Regions from separate parts of the Homo sapiens genome. Here all the other regions are linked to region 6. The links are contacts of gene promoters, found by promoter capture Hi-C in human tissues and cell types (Jung and others, 2019). All regions are on one chromosome and are shown on one strand. Each heading gives the region's core, a stretch centred on a gene start or on the middle of the fragment in contact. The rest is flanking DNA. Distances are from core to core; before and after follow the strand shown. Region 1 has its middle 5.6 kb from the start of KRT25. Region 2 overlaps LOC107985072 (a long non-coding RNA gene). Region 3 overlaps KRT40 (keratin 40). Region 4 overlaps LOC105371776 (a long non-coding RNA gene). Region 5 holds the start of KRTAP1-1 (keratin associated protein 1-1). Region 6 holds the start of KRT16 (keratin 16).

What was found. The method cuts DNA at HindIII sites, captures the fragments that hold promoters and counts their contacts. A contact is called where the count stands out against the background at its distance.
Region 1: a contact is called between a fragment that was not itself captured here and the fragment with the promoter of KRT16 in region 6, in 3 of the 25 tissues and cell types used here (dorsolateral prefrontal cortex, mesenchymal stem cells and mesendoderm cells).
Region 2: a fragment that was not itself captured here is called in contact with the fragment with the promoter of KRT16 in region 6 in 5 of the 25 tissues and cell types used here (lymphoblastoid cells, mesenchymal stem cells, pancreas and 2 more).
Region 3: a fragment that was not itself captured here is called in contact with the fragment with the promoter of KRT16 in region 6 in 3 of the 25 tissues and cell types used here (lymphoblastoid cells, spleen and thymus).
Region 4: a contact is called between a fragment that was not itself captured here and the fragment with the promoter of KRT16 in region 6, in 3 of the 25 tissues and cell types used here (lymphoblastoid cells, stomach and thymus).
Region 5: a contact is called between the fragment with the promoter of KRTAP1-1 here and the fragment with the promoter of KRT16 in region 6, in 2 of the 25 tissues and cell types used here (lymphoblastoid cells and spleen).

What each region holds. Positions count from the first base shown.
Region 1 is chr17:40,759,375-40,762,407 of GRCh38, forward strand. No RefSeq gene overlaps it. Among named protein-coding and RNA genes, the nearest start is that of KRT25, 5.6 kb to the left of the region's middle. The HindIII fragment of the contact is 3,792 bases long and covers 1-3,033 here.
Region 2 is chr17:40,949,103-40,952,261 of GRCh38, forward strand. The region is part of intron 1 of LOC107985072 (a long non-coding RNA gene); the gene reads left to right. Among named protein-coding and RNA genes, the nearest start is that of KRT23, 13 kb to the left of the region's middle. The HindIII fragment of the contact is 5,990 bases long and covers 1-3,159 here.
Region 3 is chr17:40,980,586-40,983,795 of GRCh38, forward strand. It overlaps KRT40 (keratin 40), which reads right to left. Exons shown (of 7, transcript NM_001389244.1): 2 at 2,461-2,543; 3 at 1,722-1,878; 4 at 405-566; 5 at 200-325. LOC107985072 (a long non-coding RNA gene) reads left to right here. Exons shown (of 4, transcript XR_001752886.2): 3 at 1-22; 4 at 1,743-3,210. Among named protein-coding and RNA genes, the nearest start is that of KRT40, 2.1 kb to the right of the region's middle. RefSeq lists an enhancer at 1-22. The HindIII fragment of the contact is 6,026 bases long and covers 1-3,210 here.
Region 4 is chr17:40,805,975-40,809,154 of GRCh38, forward strand. LOC105371776 (a long non-coding RNA gene) reads left to right here. Exons shown (of 4, transcript XR_934753.2): 2 at 3,175-3,180. Among named protein-coding and RNA genes, the nearest start is that of KRT28, 7.6 kb to the left of the region's middle. The HindIII fragment of the contact is 4,460 bases long and covers 1-3,180 here.
Region 5 is chr17:41,039,965-41,043,245 of GRCh38, forward strand. It overlaps KRTAP1-1 (keratin associated protein 1-1), which reads right to left and starts at 1,486. Exons shown (of 1, transcript NM_030967.3): 1 at 577-1,486. The coding sequence starts at 1,433. The coding sequence ends at 900. The HindIII fragment of the contact is 12,161 bases long and covers 1-3,281 here.
Region 6 is chr17:41,611,517-41,614,614 of GRCh38, forward strand. KRT16 (keratin 16) reads right to left here and starts at 1,251. Exons shown (of 8, transcript NM_005557.4): 1 at 642-1,251; 2 at 123-205. The coding sequence starts at 1,172. RefSeq lists an enhancer at 2,282-2,830. The HindIII fragment of the contact is 12,932 bases long and covers 1-3,098 here.

The DNA of each region.
Region 1 (3,033 bases), core at 512-3,011, 850 kb before region 6:
TCTTTTTTGTTTCTATTTGCATGGAATATCTTTTTCCATCCCTTCACTTTTAGTCTATGTGTGTCCTTAAAGCTGAAGTGAGTCTCTTGTAGACAGCATACAGATTTTGTGTATGTGTGTGTGTGTGTTTGCCTTTTTAGTACCCTTAGCTATTCTGTGTCATTTGATTGGAGAATGTAATCCATTTATATTCAAGGTAATTATTGATAGGTAAGGACTTACTACTGCCATTTTGTTGTTTTCCAGTTGTTTCGTAGATCCTTTGTTTCTTTTTTCCTTTCTTGCTGTCTGCCTTTGTGATTTGACAACTTTCTCTAGTGGCATGCTTTGATTCCTTTCTCTTTCTCTTTTGTGTATCTACTATAGAATTTTGCTTTGTGGTTATCATGAGACTTACACTGAACATGTTAGAACAGGTTATTTTAGGCTGATAACTTCAACTGCATTCAAAAACTTTACAGTTTTACTACCCCTCCATCTATTTTTTTGATGTCACAATTTATATCTCTTTATATTGTGTATTCCTTAACAAATTATTGTACTTATAATTAGTTTTAATAGTTTGGTCTTTTAACCTTTATACCAGATATAAGTGATGTGTACACCACCATTACAGTAGTATATTCTGAATTTGTATATTTACCTTTAACAGTGAGTTTTTTTAACTTTCATATGTTTTCATGTTGCTAATTAGAGTTCCTTTGTTTCAACTAATTGACCTATCTTTATCATTTCTTGTAAGGGAGGCAATGAACTCCCTCAGCTTTTGTTTGGGGATATCTCCTTAATTTATGAAGCCCAGACTTTTCTGGGTATGATATTCTTGGTTGGCAGGTTTTTTTCTTTCAGCACTTTGAATATATTATCCTACTGTCCTGACTTGCAAGGTTTCTGTTGAGAAGTCTGTTGATAGCCTCATGGGGGTTCCCTTGTATGTAATCAGTCTCTTATCTTTTGCTGCTTTCAAGATTCTCTCTGTCTTTTGGCAATTTTTAAAAAATTTTACTTTAAGTTCTGGGATACATGTGCAGAATGTGCAGGTTTGTTACATAGGTATATATGTGCCATGGTGGTTTGCTGCACCTATCAACCTGCCATCTAGGTTTTAAGCCCCACATGCATTAATGTGCCTCAGAGTGTTTGTCTTTGGGTTGATCTTGCTTGGGATCCTTTGAATTTCGTGAATCTGTATGTCCATATCCCTCTCAAGATTTGGGATGTATTTCTTTACATAAGCTTTCTTTCCTTTTCTCTCTTTCCTCCTTCTGAAATCCTCATAATGTATATATTTGTATGCTTGGTGGGATAGACTAGATCCTGTATGCCTTCTTTACTCTTTTTTATTATTTAAACATTTTTGTTCCTCTAATTCAGTAATTTAAAATGCCCTTTCTTTGAGTTTGCTAATTCTTTCTTCTGCATGATAGAGTCTGCTGTTGAAGCTTTCTATTGAATTTTTCAGTTTTGTCATTGTATTCTTCAGGTCTAGGATTTCTGGTTTTATTTTTATGGTTTCTATTTTAAAAATTAAGCTTCTCATCTTGTTTATGCATTGTTTTCCTAATTTCATTTAGTTATTTATCTATGTCTTTTTGCATCTTATTGAGCTTCTTTAAGATGATTATTTTGAATTTTCTTTCAGGCAATTTGTAGATCTCCCTTTCTTTGGGGTCAGTTACTGGAGCCTTATTAGTTTCCTTTGGTGGTGTCATGCTTGCCTTATTCTTCATTATTCATGTAGTCTTGCATTGGTATCTGTGCATTTGAAGGCACAAATACCTCCTTCATTTTTTTTTTTTGAGACAGGATCTTACTCTGTCACCCAGGCTGGAGTGCAGTGGCGTGATCTCAGCTCACTGCAATCTCTGGCTCCCAGGCTCAAGTGATCCTTCCACCTCAGCCTCCTGAGTAACTGGAATGACAGGCATATGCCACCATACTCAGCTAATTTTTATATGTTTTGTGGAGATGGGGTTTTGCCATATTGCCCAGGCTGGTCTTGAACTCCTGAGCTCAAGCCATCCACCCGCCTCAGCCTCCCAAAGTGCTGGGATTACAGGTGAAAGCCACCACACCTGGCCCTCTTTAAATCTTTATAGACTGCTTTTGGCAGTTTAAGGCCTTCTTCTATTAGGTTCCTGTGGTGATGGGATTGTGGTCAAATGAGGTTGGAGCTGGATCACATGGCTATTGCTGAGTCCACAGTGGGGTCTATAGTTGATAGGTCTGTTACCAGGGGCTGTAGTAGCTGTGGATTCTGTGTAGTCTCTGGGTTGACTGGACTGTCTGTAGAACCTTGGTCCATAGAGCTGGCACTGGGATGAGAGTCCATTTCAAGATCTGTAGATGATGGGCCATTACCAGGTGTGTGAGTGGGTGTGGCTTCTTCTGTGTCTCTGGAAAGTCTCCCAGTGGATCACTAAGTGAGACCCTGGGTATGTAGTGCTGCTCAAGTCCATGGCTGAGACAAGTTAGAACTGAGTTTTGGGGCTGCTTTAGAGCCTGTAACTGAGACTGAGCTCTTCAGACCTGTCTTTGGGGTCACAGAAGGGTATGTTTTCTGGTGGGTCCCCGGGCAGGCAGGCTTGCTCTCAGACCACAGTTGATAGAGGCTGGTGCTGAATTACAGGGCCATTTCAAGATCCACAGCAGGACCAAGATCAGTGGGTCAGGCTATAGGAGCACTGATGAGCATGTCTGTCTCCAGGTCTTGTGTGCGCAGCACTACTCTCAAGCCTCAGCTGAGAGGGGCTGGGACTGCTTTTCAGGGCCATTTCAGGATCTTCTGTGGGACCCAGGTCAGCTGGGCTGCCTGTGGAGCTCAGATGAGAGTGCCTCCCTCTGGATTCCTGGGCAGTTAGAACTTCTCTCTGACCACAGCTGAGAAGGGCTAGGGCCCAGATTCAGGTTTGTTTTAGGGATGCTGTAAAATTGAGATTGGCAAGCCTGCCCTGGGGACACAGAATGGTGTGTCTCCCAGCAGATCCCTGACGAGGCAGAAGTGCTTAGTCTGCAGCTGAGAGGGGCTGGGGT
Region 2 (3,159 bases), core at 367-2,866, 660 kb before region 6:
GGCAGAGTTAAGGGTGACGAGATGGCTGATGGTGAAGATGGAAATGGTGGACAAGCCCAGGAATGTGAGCAGCCTCTGAAAGCTGGAAAAGTTTGGCAATAAAACAAATCCCCCCCAGGACCTCCAACACTTTGATTTTAGTACACTGAGTCCCAAGTCAGATTTCTGAAATAGAGAACAGTAAGATAGTACATTCGTGTTTTGTGTTATTTTGAGCCATGAAATGCATGTCACTTTGTTACAGTGGCAGTAGAACATCGTAGTGTCTGTGTGTTTGTGGGGGAAACATCCAGTAGGAACTCTGGTGATGGATTTTTGCTGAAGATTTGCCAGGTCTGTCCTGCAGACCCTGGCCGAGCGTCGGATGAAGGGAGTACTGACAACACAGGCGTGCAGTGTAAGAGCAGCTAGGGGTCTGCCGGCACTTAGGGCCAAAGAAGAGAGCAGCTGCGAACAGCTGAAGCTGCTTGCTTTTATTCAGTACAGACATAATGCCGAAAGCCTGGAGCAAACACAATCTGCGGGTAATTAACATTATTGTTCCCCTTTTCAGGGAGCAGTCATGTGCACAGATTATCAAAGGTCGGTTTCTGGACAACCTAAGTAAACAAGCCTGTTTACGATAAATTCCCCTACACCTCCTTGTACCTACTCCTTGCCCTCTGCCTCAGGATCAGAGAACAGCTGCCTTCAGCTTATTCTCCCCTGAAGCTATGCAGAGCCTTCTGAACTTTCAGAAGGTTTGCATCCTTTCCCTATAGTTTCTCCCACCACTCTGACCAATCTCCTACAAAGATTAAATCAAGGTGAATAGAATGTGTTTTCCATGTGATTTATAAAACATATTTTCCATACACATACTTAGTCTAGATCTTTAATTATTAGCGTAACAGCAAAGATGGTTATAGTTACTATATTTCATAAACCCTAAAAAGGCAAATTATAGGTGGATTTTTAAATTTTCAAATTAATATATATGATATACCTCAGAAAATTATAGAATTTAAATCACATTTAATTAAACATTTTACAAATAATTTTTACGGAGAAGCATAAAATTACATAAAAGGAAGGCTGTTCCTGAAGATCCACGGCACGTGGGAACCATCATTAGGGCAAATGTGAATATGTGTCTTTTATTTACAACCAAAGCCTATTTCCCTCCTGATCTCACCCTTTGTCCACAGCTCGTCTTTCATCCTTAATTATTATTTACTACATAGTCTTTGTGTCATTACTACAAAGAGACGGTGCTGTAACTGGGACGCTGGACACGGTCCCTGCAATCTTAGTCCCACTGTACATTCTGTTCCATGTAAGTGAGCTCCAAATGACCTCTTGGTTCTTCTTACTCTGCAGCCACAAAAACATATCCATTTTGCTCCTTTCTCTTTCTTATTTTGTCTATTTCTCCCAGTGCCTCTCCTGAATACACTAATATAGCATCTTCTGTTTTTTTCTGAACCCAACACGTTTGATTTCATTTCTGATTACCATCCCTCTAATTATAATTTGTAGCCTTTCTTAAAAGGGACCCTGTGGGGGTGGGGGGGGGCAGTGGGTGTGGTTGCTCACACCTGTAATCCCAGCACTTTGGGAGGCCAAGGCAGGTGGATCATCTGAGGTCAGGAGTTCGAGACCAGCCTGACCAACGTGGAGAAACTCTGTCTCTACTAAAAAAAAAAAAAAAAACCACAATTGTCTGGGCATGGTGGCGCATGCCTGTAATCCTAGCTACTTGGGAGGCCAAGGCAGGAGAATCACTTGAACCCAGGAGGTGGAGGTTGCGGTGAGCCGAGATCGTGCCATTGCACTCCAGCCTGGGCAACACGAGCAAAACTCTGTCTCAAAAAAAAAAAAAGAAAAAAAATGGAATCCTGGGGGTGGACTTTGGATATTTCATCCTATCAGCCTTGTGTCCTGTTACTCTTGGGATGGGTCAAAACCAGGAAGTCCCCTGCAGCTTTGGCAGCCCACAATTGCTGATGAAGCCACAAATTGTTGGAAACATGAATATCCGGCATTCATTGTTTTGAGCCTATGCTCGCCATGAATATGAACTAGTTAGAAATGAGACCTACACTTTCCCAATGCTTCTCCATTCAAGACCTCTTGGCTTTATATCTAGTAGAGCAGGGCTATACTGTGCCAATCTTCTAGCAATAAACTTCACACAAATCCAACAGCCTAATTGTTGTGGTTAGAATGAGAAGAGATGAAGATGCTGTTGAGTTAGGTCATCTGGTCTCCAAAGCAGAACTTCACAAGGTGATACTTTCTTGTGAAGTCACAGTGGTCTATGTCTGTTCTTAGGCTGGTGGGTTATTAGTGCACCAGAACCAAAGGGATTCTCAGGAGCTGACTCAGAGTAACCTGACTTTTAAGTGCCAGATGAAAGAGACAGAATGCAAACTTATTAATTTAACATTGAAAGATGATCCATTTTGCAACCACAGAGTTCCCAACTGCAAATCAATGCACCTTCTTTGTTGTACCTAAGAATTAGAGAAACCAAATTGTAATATGAAGGCTTTTGTCAAAAATGGAACTAGAAGAGGGATATGGGGTCTTGAGGAATGAGGTTGAAAAACTGCCTCAAGTCCACACGTGCTTAGATGGTGTTCATGAGTTCAGTGTTGCCCCTTCCTGGATTGGGCTGGACACTGTTGTGTTGTGTTTTTAGGGCTCACTTTCTCTTTTTAAAATATTTTCTTAACCACTTGAACCACCAGGGATATGGCTCACCTTCTTTAGACCTCCAAGACAAGCATTATTTCTTTAATTCTTTATAGCTTTCATTAGGCTACATGTATGACATTTTCAAACTTGAGTAATTATTTAATTGATTGGGCATTTGGAATAGAGGATTTGAGTTTGTTCAGATTTTGACTTTAACATTTACTAGCTGTGACACTGAGCAAATTACTTAACTTCTGTAAGCCTTAGTTCACTTGTTAGTAATGTGGTAATAACCATAGTATGGTAGGGCCATTGTGAGAATTGAGTGAGATAATTCATGTAAAGCATGTAGCACAATGTCTAGAGGCATAATATTTAATCAGTTTTTAATTGAATGAAAGAAGCATTACTCTTTCTACTTTTTGGCCCTAGGAGACACTGTGGCTTCTGTGCATCTGTGATTACTTTTATTATGTGTTG
Region 3 (3,210 bases), core at 711-3,210, 630 kb before region 6:
AGACTCAAGCCCAGGAGTGAAGGTAAGGCATCTTAGAGGACAAGCTGTGGACCTGTCACTTCTGCTTCTATTAATAGCTGGGTAAACGGCAGTACTCGGGAAAGGCAAGGAAATGTGATCCTCGGATATGGAAGAGGGCTTAACATCTCAGGGCCTGACTTATCAGTGACACAACGGACACTGCCTTTGCCTCACGCACCAGGCTTTGCTGTGCTTGGAGCTCAATTTCCAGAGCACTGGCTGTGCGTTTCAGTTCCAAGATCTCCATCTGGCAGCCCTGCAGCTGCTCCGCGCTGGACAGTTGCTGCTGATTCAGCTCTTCTGTCTGAAACACAGACACCATTAGAGAATTCAAAAAAGGCAGAAGTCTGTAAGCCTGACATTTTTTCAATCTGGGTACTGACCTGAACAGCCAACCATTCTTCAGCTTCTCTGCGATTGTTGGCAAGCACCGTTTCACACTGACAGCGCATCTCATCCAGGACCCTGTTGAGGTCAAGGGTGGGGGCAGTGTCCAGCTCCACACTGAGGCGGTCGCCAAGCTGTTCACGAAGCAAGTTGACTTCCTGAAAGTGGGATGGTGTAAAGAATGTCACAGAATGGTGGGGAAAAATCCATTTGACATCCAATGGCATTCTACTTCTGTTTTTTGGAGCAGTGGGTAAAAGTGTGAGATTTTGATTCAGATTGCCTGGGCTGAATCTCTTTTCACCACTTAGAAGGGCCTCAGTTTCTTCGTCTGTAAAATGGACATAATAATTGGACATTTTTCCAGAAAGTTATTGTGAGATCTAGAAGAGTCAATCTACACATAATTAACTTATAAAAGTTAATTATGACACATAGTAAGGTGTCAATAAATGTTAGCTATGATTGTCATCAACAAACGTTCAAAGAGCAAATGTACTTTGTTACATCATTCAGCTTTTCATTTTCTAGCTTTATCAATATATCAGTGGCTGTATATTTTATGATTTTTAGAAGTTTATAAATGCGGAATATTTAAAAACACTGGTCCAGATAGTGCACAGTCTTTATCCCTTTTTTGAAATGGACTTCACAGTCTGTTCCTCAGCCTGATTTTCATACCCTGTGGACTGGAGCTAGGGGTGGCATAAAGCCTCCAAAGGAAGCCATTTGTGAAGTTACCTCCTCCACAAAGGCAAGGGCAGGAGAAGAGTTTGATTCCTTCCTCTGGCGCTGTCTAGGGGTTATTTCACACCTTAAATCAGAGACACACTGGAATGATCAGGTTGAATAGTAATAATGCCTCGAGTAGTTTTTGTTTGTTTGTTTGTTTGTTTGTTTTTTGAGATGGAGTCTCGCCCTGTCACCCAGGCTGGAGTGCAGTGGTAAGATCTCGGCTCACTGCAACCTCCGCCTCCTGAGTTCAAGTGATTCTCCTGCCTCAGCCTCCCGAGTAGCTAGGACTACAGGCGCCTGCCACCATGCCCAGCTAATTTTTGTATTTTTAGTAGAGATGAGGTTTCATCATATTGGTCAGGCTGGTCTCGAACTCCTGACCTTGTGATCCTCCTGCCTCAGCCTCCCAAAGTGCTTGGATTACAGGTGTGAGCCACCATGCCTGGCCCTGCCTCAAGTAGTTTTATTCCAGCTTAAACAACATCTGCCCAAATTCGATTTACAAACATCAACAGATCATCTGTCAATGTAAGTACGTTACTCTCGGAGTCCTTCAGCGGAGTTGCCACTTTCCTTACCTCTTCATGGTTTTTCTTAAGGCAAAGGAGATCTTCCTTCAGAGACTCCACATGGGCCTCCAGATCAGATTTGCACAGGGTCAGTTCCTCCAGGATCCCATGCAGGCTGCTGATGTCAGCCTCTAACAGCTGGCGAAGGGACAGTTCACTCTCGTACCTTTCACAGCAAAAGAGAAATCCAACGCTTACTTTGCTGAACGCTGTGCAAAGTGTGGGGATACATGGAGGATCGACACACGGACTTCAGGAAGCCATGTGCATAATTTCTCTTAATTCCTAAGTAATGATAAATTCAAGCTTTTAAAACATTCTTAACTTTAAAATATTATATAGAGAATATTTGTGTGTGTGTGTGTGTGTGAGAGAGAGAGATTGAGAGAGAGAGAGCCATAAGTTATTTTCAAATTAAAATTAAAGCCGGGCGTGGTGGCTCATGCCTGTAATCCCAGCACTTTGGGAGGCCAAGGCGGGCAGATCACCTGAGGTCAGGAGTTCGAGACCAACCTGGCCCACATGGTGAAACCCTGTCTCTACTAAAAATACAAAAATTAGCTAGGTGTGGCGGTGCACGCCTGCCTGTAATCCCGGCTACTCAGGAGGCTGAGGCAGGAGAACCACTTGAACCCAGGAGGCAGAGGTTGCAGTGAGCTGAGATAGCACCATTGAGCTCTAGCCTGGGTGACAAGAGTGAAACTCCATCTCAAAATAAATAAATAAAATAAAATTAAATTAAACTTACTTTGACTTAAAGTCATCAGTGGCCAGTTTGCAGTTGTCAAGCTGTACAGCAAGTCTAGAATTCTCTGCTTTCGTGCATAAGATCTGGGAAGCAAGTCATTATGTGATAAATGATTCTTTGAGAGAAACCTAAGTAAACTTCTATCCAACAGCTATGCCATTAGCTATCTTTTGAAAGTCTTTATAAGAAAGTATAAAATCACCCTCAGCCTGCTTTTTTTTATTAACCTTGTCACTTCATGAAGAAAAAAAGCAGAGCCAATTTAGAAACAAAATAATGAAATAAAAAGGTTTAGTTTTTTAATAACATAAGACATTTTGCAACATTCTCAGGCAGTTGAACACCATTAATGTTTTCTCCATCAGTAGTTTGTATTATGAGTATATCCTCTCCCATAATAATAGAAATTCATGGAGAGAAGAAAATGATTACTAGGTAGTTAAAAAGATGGCATTTCATGATCTGTGTTCAGATAATGTAAATGTTCAGTGTCACGTACAAAAGCGATTTTGGATATAATACAGTTTTTCTGCATTCTATAGATGATGAAGGAAAAGTCTACAGGCAAGTTACTTTATTATAGTCACTCAGTAATCAGGGGTAGCTCTGGGGCTGATGCTGAGGTTTTCTGACTTTCAGTCCGGTGCTCTCCCCTATGTATCACTAACTCTTAGAATTTTCCTTTCCCTTGGTTTCCTTCTGTAAAACAGCCCCTTCTAGTAGAAAGATAAAGCAAACCATAGATCAGGA
Region 4 (3,180 bases), core at 46-2,545, 810 kb before region 6:
TCTGTGGTGTCAGCTATTCGGGAGATGAGATAGGAGGATTTCTCGAGCCCAGCAGGTAGAGGCTGCAGTGAGCTGTGGCAACAGAGTGAGACTTTACCTCAAAAACAAATAACAGCAACAACAACAAAGAAATAAAGATTCTGTAGAGATATCACATGGATCACAGTTTTGAAGTTGGGTACCTCAGTGTAGTATTTGTAACTACGCCCCCAGTTGTTCTATAATGCTCTTCCCAACCTTTTGAAATATTTAATTTCTACCATCCACCAAGGCTCAGTTCAAGAGCCACATCTTCTAGCAAACCTTCCCTGACATTCCATTCTGATTTGGATGTCACGGTGCCTTGTCCATGGTCCTTAGCCCCCGACATGTACATTTTCTATGGCATGTATCACAGGGAATGGCTATGTCTTAACTTATTATCTCCATGGCCTAGCACATTGCCTGCCTCAATGATATTTGTTGAATGAATGAATGAATGTATCCCACCCACTGAATTAAAGTCTCAGGGACTCCAAATCCCTACCCTCCTCCTGGCAAGGTGCTGGGGATGATTGTTCTGAAAAGAGCTGGTGCACCAAGCCCTTGATGTAGTTCAGCAGCTTCATCCGTTGTCGGACACAGCTGTTTCTGCTACACCATTCCTCTGCTCTGTTCATGGTGGTGAGGGGTTTTTTTTGCACCAGCATTTGCAGCTTTTATGAAGCTCCCATAGGTAACTGTTTATTTCAGCCCTTCTCTTGGTTCCTGAGAAAGAGGGGAACAAATAGCACCAGTGAGTGAATTGGAAAGCATTTGAGTGACACTACCCAGATTTGCACCTAGAAGTGTCGTCACTGGTTATGATCCAGTGTCTCAAGCCCCTAAATTACCCGCTGTGGGGGAAGTTGCTATTATTGGGGGCAGTCTTTAACGGAGTTTAGGTGTTTACCATGAAGAAAGTCATGAAGATGGAGAGCTAGAAAAGTTCCTAGCACTTGGGAGAGCCTGGATGGCATGAATTATTTTTTCCATTTTTTTAAACCCCAGCATCCCTGGATTTGCCTTGGGAGGTCTTGTAGTCCATGGACTCACTTGTAGGTGACTCACTGATTTTGTCACTGGCTTAACCAATATTTATTGAGCCTCAGCTTGTGTGTTGAGAATTGTGCTAGGTGTGGGTTTACAGCTACCTATGAGTAAGGCAGACAGACCTAACCTTGCTGAGATTAAAATCTAATTTACAAAAGGACTACCCAAGGTGTTACCAGGGACATGCTGACAAGATTTTTTCCTACGCTCTGTCGTCCAGGCTAGGGTACAGTGGCACAATCTCGGCTGACTGCAACCTCCACCTCCTAGGTTCAAGGGATTCTCATGCCTCATCCTCCTGAGTAGTTGGGGTTACAGGCACATGCCACCACGCCTGGCTAAATTTTGTGTTTTTTAGTAGAGATGGGGTTTCACCATGTTGCCCAGGCTGGTCTTGAACTCCTCCCCTCATGTGATCTGCTCACCTTGGCCTCCCAAAGTGCTGGGATTACAGGCGTGAGCCACTGTATCTGGCCGCTGTAGAGATTCTTGATACACCAGGAATGAAAGCCTAGTCCTCAATCTCTGTGCAAGGGGTACTGCTGCTGAGGGCATATTTTGGAAGTGTGTGTGTCTATGTGTGAATGTGTACACATGTGGTCATCATAATGATAGGGGTTGTTGCTGGCATTTGGGGTCGGGGAGGGATGCCAGACATAATGAAATGCATGATACAGTCCTGGACATCAAGGAATTGTCCTGTGTTCCACATGACTTTTGAACCATGAGCTATTCATGAAAGTGAAAAACCTGTTTATAATTACCTGAATCTGGAAACGAGTTCTAAGTTATGTAAAAACACAAAGTTTTTTTTTGTGTGTGTGCAAAGTTGTAACTGAATTTTTTTAGGAATGTAATTGCTGTATAAATCAAGGAAGATTGTACTTAAGCTTATTTTGCCCAGAATTTGATCAAGGGTTGTTTAAAAAATCCCATCACCAACAACATTGCTGCTCATTGTATTTAAGTCAGTGATGTGCCCACGTTTATCAGTCTCTCTTCATTTGTACCTTTTTGCATTCTCGCTGGTTTTGCATATAGATGCAATCATTTGACTACTTCATTACATCTTCTGGTACAATCATACTCGAACATTTCCATATTGAAATGCAAATAATTTTATTACAAGTTATCTTTCCTTCTGTTTTTCTTTTACATCTATCATTAACCTTTCTACACACTATAGATTATAATCATAGATAATATAAACTTCCCATGCATAGTTTCTTTATCTTCTTTTCTTTTTTTTTCTTTGAGACGGAGTCTTGCTCTTGTTGCCCAGACTGGAGTGCAATGGTGTGCTCTCAGCTCAGTGAAACCTCCGCCTCCCGGGTTCAAGCAATTCTCCTGCCTCAGCCTCCTGAGTAGCTGGGATTACAGGCATGTGCCACCACACCTGGCTAATTTTTATATTTTTGGTGGAGATGGGGTTTCACCATGTTGGCCAGGCTGGTCTCAAACTCCTGACCTCATGGTCTGCCCGCCTCAGCCTCCCAAAGTGCTGGGATTACAGGTGTGAGCCACCATGCCCGGCCAGTTTCTATATATGATATATAAAAATGTATATATGAAACACAGAAGTGATAAGTATATGTTTTGTACATGTGATATTTATAGTACCCACCCCTGCTCCTCCTCCGTATACTAGGATAAACTGTGTGTTGGAAGGATATATTACCTATGAATTTCATTTCTCAATAGTAAAGGGGGTGAATCAAAATATTTGCTATAAAAAAGGAATGTAAGTCAGAACTACTGGCAAAATATAGGAAGGAGCAGGGCTAAGCACTACAGAGCACTGGTCTCCAAGTAAAGTATGTACTTTTAGGAGATGCAGGCAACCCACTGGGTGGGAGGAAGAGGGTGTCAGAACTTCTATTTAAGTTTTTGTATTAGAAAGTAAGAATTAAACTAAACTCATATTTAATATAAGAATGACATTGGCATTCTGATTTTATCTTTATGTCAATCTCTCTTCTCAATCAGCTCAAAAGATATTCTGAGAAAAGAATGTTCACCCCACAATGTAGAGAAGTGGATAGTGACATCTTCATTTGCTTGCAATGCACTGTGACATTGCAGTTTATGTCCATTGTATTTCAGGATTGT
Region 5 (3,281 bases), core at 236-2,735, 570 kb before region 6:
AGAAGGCCAGAGAGAGAGAGAGAGCAAGAGCAAGTGAGTGAGCGAGAGCGAGAGAGAGAGAGATTCTGTTTTCTGAGGCCTGCTTCTGAAGTGTAAAGTGCCCTAACATCAATAAAAGGGCTATGGGAGTTATGAGCCTAGACCTTGAATGAAATGTGTATATTCGTTACATGCTATTACTCTGTAATCTTGTGTTTGTATTCTTTCACAATTTTTATTATGCTTTTGTATATCTTGGAGGACAGAAATAATTGTATACAACCTCATATATGAATGGATGAATGAATAGATTTGGCAAAACCTCAAGAAGCTGAATCAATCTGTTGGAATACCTAGCCCACCACTTTGCACATGAGAGGACCTTAGGAAACAGTTCCTAAATGTTGTCAAGTTCCTTTAATCATATGTCTTGGCTGCAAAATATTGGACCATTTAATGGTAAAACAAAGGAAAATTGCTGTTAAATATCATCATTAAAAGAGCAAAAGTACAGAAAAACCATAGTGTCATGTCATGTTGATATTTTGAAAAATCCCAGTACCCCAATATTGTTAATAAATTCCAAAGCAAAGAAAGTTCAAACAACAACTTCATCATTGAAGAGATGAAAACTTTTATTAAATTTAAGTCCCAATAACTGTTGAAATATTTCAGGTGATATTTATAGTAAAATAGTATCTAACTCTTTTCACATTGTAGGACTTTGGCTGACAACCAGGTCTAGGAAAAATTTTTGGTCTTCCATTGTAAATGAATTTACTTCCTAGGGAATTTATGTGGCTGTGTGATGAGAGGTTGCAAGCCCAGTTATAGGTACTGGAGTTCAGAAGATTGTTAGGATTCTAATTTGGCTAGTTTTAAGGTGCCATCTTATCAGGATCCCCAGCAGAAGGAGGTTTTCAACAAGTGGGCTCAGAGCAGTAGCAGCAGCAGACTGGGCGGCAACAGGACTGTCCACAGTAGGATGGGCGGCAGCAGGAGGCCTCGGCGTGGTGCAGCTGGCAGCAGGATGGGGGTGTGCAGCTCACCACGCAGCAGGGGGGCAGGCAGGTACCCTCCACACGGCAGTCTGGGCGGCACCACCTGATACGGGTGCTCACAGCTCCACTGCTGCCCTCCTGGCCATAGCCAATGCCACCACCAATGCCACAGCCAGTTCCGCAGGAGCTGGTCTGGTAGCAGCTTGGCTGGCAGCAGCTAGTTTCACAGCAGCTTGGCTGGCAGCAGCTAGAGTCACAAGTCCCACCGGTTGAGAAGCTAGGAAATCCACAGAAGCTGGTCTGGCAGCAGCTTGGCTGGCAGCAGCTGGTCTCACAGCAGCGTGGCTGGCAGGAGCTGGTCTCACAGCAGCTTGGCTGGCAGCAGCTGGAGCCGCAGGTCCCACTGGTGGAGCAGCTGGGAAATCCACAGAAGCTGGTCTGACAGCAGGCCATGGTGTCAGGAGTTGATCTGAAGGTTGGGTTGCTTGGAGGAGTTTCTGAATTATGGCTGCCTATTCCACTGCCGGCTTTTTATAAGTCTGGGCCAATTCCTCTATTTGTGGCGAGCAACATTTTTATCTTGTTACTCTTTAAACCAGCCTTTCTAGGGCCCTCTGATGGTTCAAATGCTGAATTGTTTTAAATATATCTCAAAATTGATTTTTCCTTATTGCTCAGCTAATACTCACCAAATGTGTTTGTCCTTGGTAAAAATGTTAACATTTTGTTTACAAACAATGGTATAATTTCCACTTGAGCTTCAGCTTCAGGTTTGCACTTGTGGGTATATCACCTGACAAAGTGACTCTCACCCATAAGGTGATGTGATTTTGGAGATCATATTCACCAAACCTCAGGTCTCCAGAAAAGAATTATTAATCATGATTGCCCTTATGTAAGACTGCTTTGTATTTTTTAGACTAATAAGATTATCCTCTCTCGATATAATCTTATTAGCCAGATAGAAACTCTGATAAACTCTATATTCATAGAAATTCATAGATTTTTCCCTGAAATGGAATCTTTCCAATTTCTGTGATATCTCCTGAACTTCACATTCATATTTTAGGAAACATTGATCACTCAGGAGGATATATAAAACAAAACCTGTTCAATTTCAATGTCTCTTAAAAAAGAGGCTAAAATTCATATTCAGTAATTGGAAAAAATTGCAAAATATTTTAACAAAATTTACACTTCTCTATGAAAGACAAAAATCACTTGTATATGGATTATCTGGCATATAATTTTTCAAAGGCAGAATTTAATTTTAATTTATGTCATTTCAAGTTACTAAACCATGTGTCCTGTGAAAAGATATTAGACCAAAGAGCATGACAACTGAATTTAGGAAAGGGAATAAATCAAAGAAAAAGCAAGAGTTAGAAAATACTTTTATCTGCTTTATAAGGCAGGTTAGAAAATGGGTGACCAAATATAGTTCAAGAGGTGTAGTATAATAAATGCAAAGAGATTAAGAAAAATTTCAGCAAAATAAAAGTTAAAACAATTCCTGGTCATTGCCAGAAGAAAGAATGTAATTTTCACTGGGAGTTTAGGGTTACGTGAGATAAATGAAAAAAGGCTGGTCAAAAACATATTATTTCTACTTGGGGTAGGTTTATTTCTCCCTTCCAATCATGAATAGAAACACATAGTTAGCTTTTTATGAGGTGGTGGCATTTGTTTGTACAGGAATGGGGTTATATCACAATGTGATTCATGCCAGCTTCAGTAAAGATGTTCACGTCATATGGTAACCATGACTGTAGGTATGAAGTTGAAAATGGTTATATGTAATCAATGAATGTTGGAGATCAAAAATGTAGTAAATTATCTTGTTCCACCACTTAATTTTATAGGTGTAGAAACTGACATCATTCTTATTATAAATAGCACATATTTATTAACTTCTACTATGCCCAGAGCACTAAAGGCTTATACAGAAAGCAAGATCCCATCTATTTGTTTTGTATCTTGCTCTAGTATAAAAATCAGTGTAGTAGCAATAGGAGGGATTAATCAAGGAAAAGAGTTGAGTATAGAACCATTTAGTCTCAAAGTTCTAAATGGGAACATTGGTGATGTGCTATGGAGCACTTTTCATTTTCACTTAACATCGGCTGATGTTAGAATACTCTTGAGTCTTGAAGAGGTTAAGTGGCTTGTTCCATTCACACAGTACACAACCAGAAGAGCTGGGTATAAAATTCCTATCACTTGTTCCTAGACCAGTTCTTTTTATTTTATACCATGCTGCTTTTCAGAATCAATTAATGTTAGTAAGGCTCTTTGTCTTTG
Region 6 (3,098 bases), core at 1-2,500:
TCAGGTCCTCAGGCTGCAGCCCTGAGGATTCTGAGGCTCGGGGTCTGCTGGCCCTGCTGGGTGGACCGCCCCACTCTTTGTCCCTTGCCCTCTGCCCCCAGCCCACCATGCTGGCTGCTCACTTGGTCCTGAAGTCATCGGCTGCCAGCCTGGCATTGTCAATCTGCAAAATGGGCTGCGCATTCTCAATGGTGGCCGCAATGATCTGGAGTGGGGATGGAGGACAGGAGCCCTGGTCAGCCAAGGACCTTACTACTTGAGCATGAAAGGCAGAAAGGGGCAAAAGGAACCGCCCCAAATCTGGAAGTCTTCTGGCTGGCAGGGCTGGCATGCCTTCTCCACCAGCTCAGGCTACGTAGGGATGCACTCCATCCCGATCACCCCCTTCCTGGGCCCAAGGCAGGGAAGCTGAACTTGCAGCTGAACCCTTGAAGGAAATAAGAGATTTAGGGTAACAGCCCCAGTCCGGGCACAGAGATACTGAAAAGGGACCCTCTGCTACCACTTCCCTGGGTGATCCTGGCCACTCCCCAAAGGTGCCCAGTCTCCCTGTTTGTAAAGTGTAATTGCTAAAAAGAGGTATCCCAAGGGCCACTGTAGCCCCAGCCTCTCTCAGTGCTCCATACACCAAAGTCACCCACCTTGTTCCTCAGGTCCTCGATGGTCTTGAAGTAGGGACTGTAGTCTTTGATCTCACTGGGCCGCTGCCTCTGGTACCAGTCACGGATCTTCACTTCCAGGTCGGCGTTGGCCTCCTCCAGAGCACGCACCTTGTCCAGGTAGGAGGCCAGGCGGTCATTGAGGTTCTGCATGGTCACCTTCTCACTGCCCACCAGAAGCCCATCACCACCAGCAAAACCACCACCAAAGCCAGCACCCAAGCCACCACCGAAGCCAGCACCAAGGCCACCACCATATCCTCCCCCGAAGCCACTACCAAAGCTGCTGCTGCTGCTGAAGCCACCGCCATAGCCGCCCCCCAGCCCGCAGGCTCCCCCAGAGGAGAAGCGAGAGGAGACAGACAGGCCGCCCCCGTAGGTGCTGGGGGCACGGCAGGACCCTCCGGCCAGGACGGAGGAGATGCGGCTGGAGCCGCCCCCGATGCCGCCTCCGATGCCGCAGGAGCCCTTCATGGAGCTGGAGGAGGTGAACTGGCGGCTGCAGGTGGTCATGGTGCCAAGGAGGGAGGTGAGCGAGTGAGCAGTTGGCTGAAAGAAGGAAAGGTGCTCAGGAAGGCTGAGAGCGTGCTGTGGCTGCCTCCAACCCCAGAGACCTTTATATGCAGCTGGGGAAGGCGGGGCCCTCCTAACTGCTGACTCCAGGTTCCCCTCTGGATTTCATCACTCCCGGTCCCGTCCAACTCCTCACTCTGGATTATTCAGCCCAGGATCAACTCTGCTGTGTGCCGGCTCAGAGTTCCCACCCAGCTTTGGGGGTGTGGGGCCGAGAGAAAAACACAGAAATGCGAGTTCGGTGGTGACTCAGGCTAGGCGGTGGGGAATCAGGCTCCCTTTCCTGGAGCCCTCGGGGCCAGTCGGGCCTTGGCACAGGTGGCTTTGTGGCAACTGCGTCCCCAGGCAGTGAGTCAGCCCTTCAGAAGAACTCCCTGCCCCACAGTGACAGCCTTGGCTGAAAGAGAGCTCAGTGATGCCATCCTGGGCTGTCTTGGGGAGCAGTTGTGGGGATCCCACATGTCCCACTCTGGGCAGGGGCAGAGTTCCTGTCTTCACTCTGCTTGCTGTGTGGCCTGAGGCTCCCCACCTCCCACCTCTGGGCCTGTTTCCCCTCAGTGACCAGGCTGGACTGGGTGACTGCAGAGTCCCTTCTGTTCTAAAAATCCTATAACTCTCTTTCCCCTCTTGGATCTAATTCCAGTTCCAGAGGCTGCCTTGAGCCCCCGGGATCTCCAGAAGTGTGTGCACCATACAAACAGCACTGGCCATGGAGCTAGACAGGCGGCACTGAGTCCCTGCTCTGCCCTTACCAACTGTACAGCACAGGCTGGTCCTATAGCCCCTTGGTCCTCAGTTTTCTCATCTGTAAAAGGGGATGACACACCACTAGCCACAAAGAAACATGCGCGAAGGACCCCACCGGCCCTTCCCCGAGGGCCAGCCCTGCCCCTCAGCCTCCCCATCCTGCCCCTCCAGCCACCTGCTCCTCACACTCACCTCTACACACTGGCACCATCCCGCACCCCTAAGCAGGGCCCTGCGCCCCCCACACTCCCAGCTGAAGAACACCACAGCCCCACACCTAGCTCTGCCACTCCTCTACCGCCCTCTCCTAATCACAGGCACCCCACCTGCAGGCTGGTGGGAGGGAGCCCCATCCTGCCACTACAGCCAGGTATGACCCCTGACCCCACCTGGGCCTCAGAGTCCCCCCCTACCCTGTAGAAACAGGACTAGCCGGGGATCCGTTCCCAGCAGTTCTCTCTCCTGTGTCCACAGATCCCAGGCTAGGCCTGGCAGCTCCATTCATCCAGCTGAGCTGGGGGAGAGCACTGGTTATGGGCCCACTCAGGCATGCATGGAGAGCCCAGTGTGTGCCATACAGTTCTGTGAGCGTAGAGATTCACTCAAAGTCACTCTGCTTTAAGCTGCAGAGCTGCAACTAGAACCCAGAACTCTGGCCCTCTCCAGGCTCCCACCATGCCTGCAGGCGGGGCCAGTATACCCAACTCTCACCCACCTCCCCACGATCACTGGCAGGAGGTCTGCCCATGGTGGGCATGGCCTTGGCCTGAGAGCCTGGTCCAGCACCGAGGACTGGAGGGAGGATGGAGGGGTCTGGGCACCAAGACGGGGCCTCCTCAGGGTGCTGTGGGGCATCCCTCGGTGCTGGCCACTGGCCTTGCTCTGCAGTGTCTCTGTTGAGGTGAGGAGCCCAGAGACAGCCTGCTTCTGCCTGAGCTCCACTGGGGCAGGCAATTCCTTGTCTCAGCAGAACCAGGGTTTTGTCACTGCTACATCTCCCCTGGTCATTCATCCCAGAGGTAAGAGCAGAACGGATGCACATCCCTTCAGAGTCAAACCTGGGAGAGGGAACCTGACACTCCTCACCCCTACCCCAAAAAGGGGCAAAGGGGACCCCGG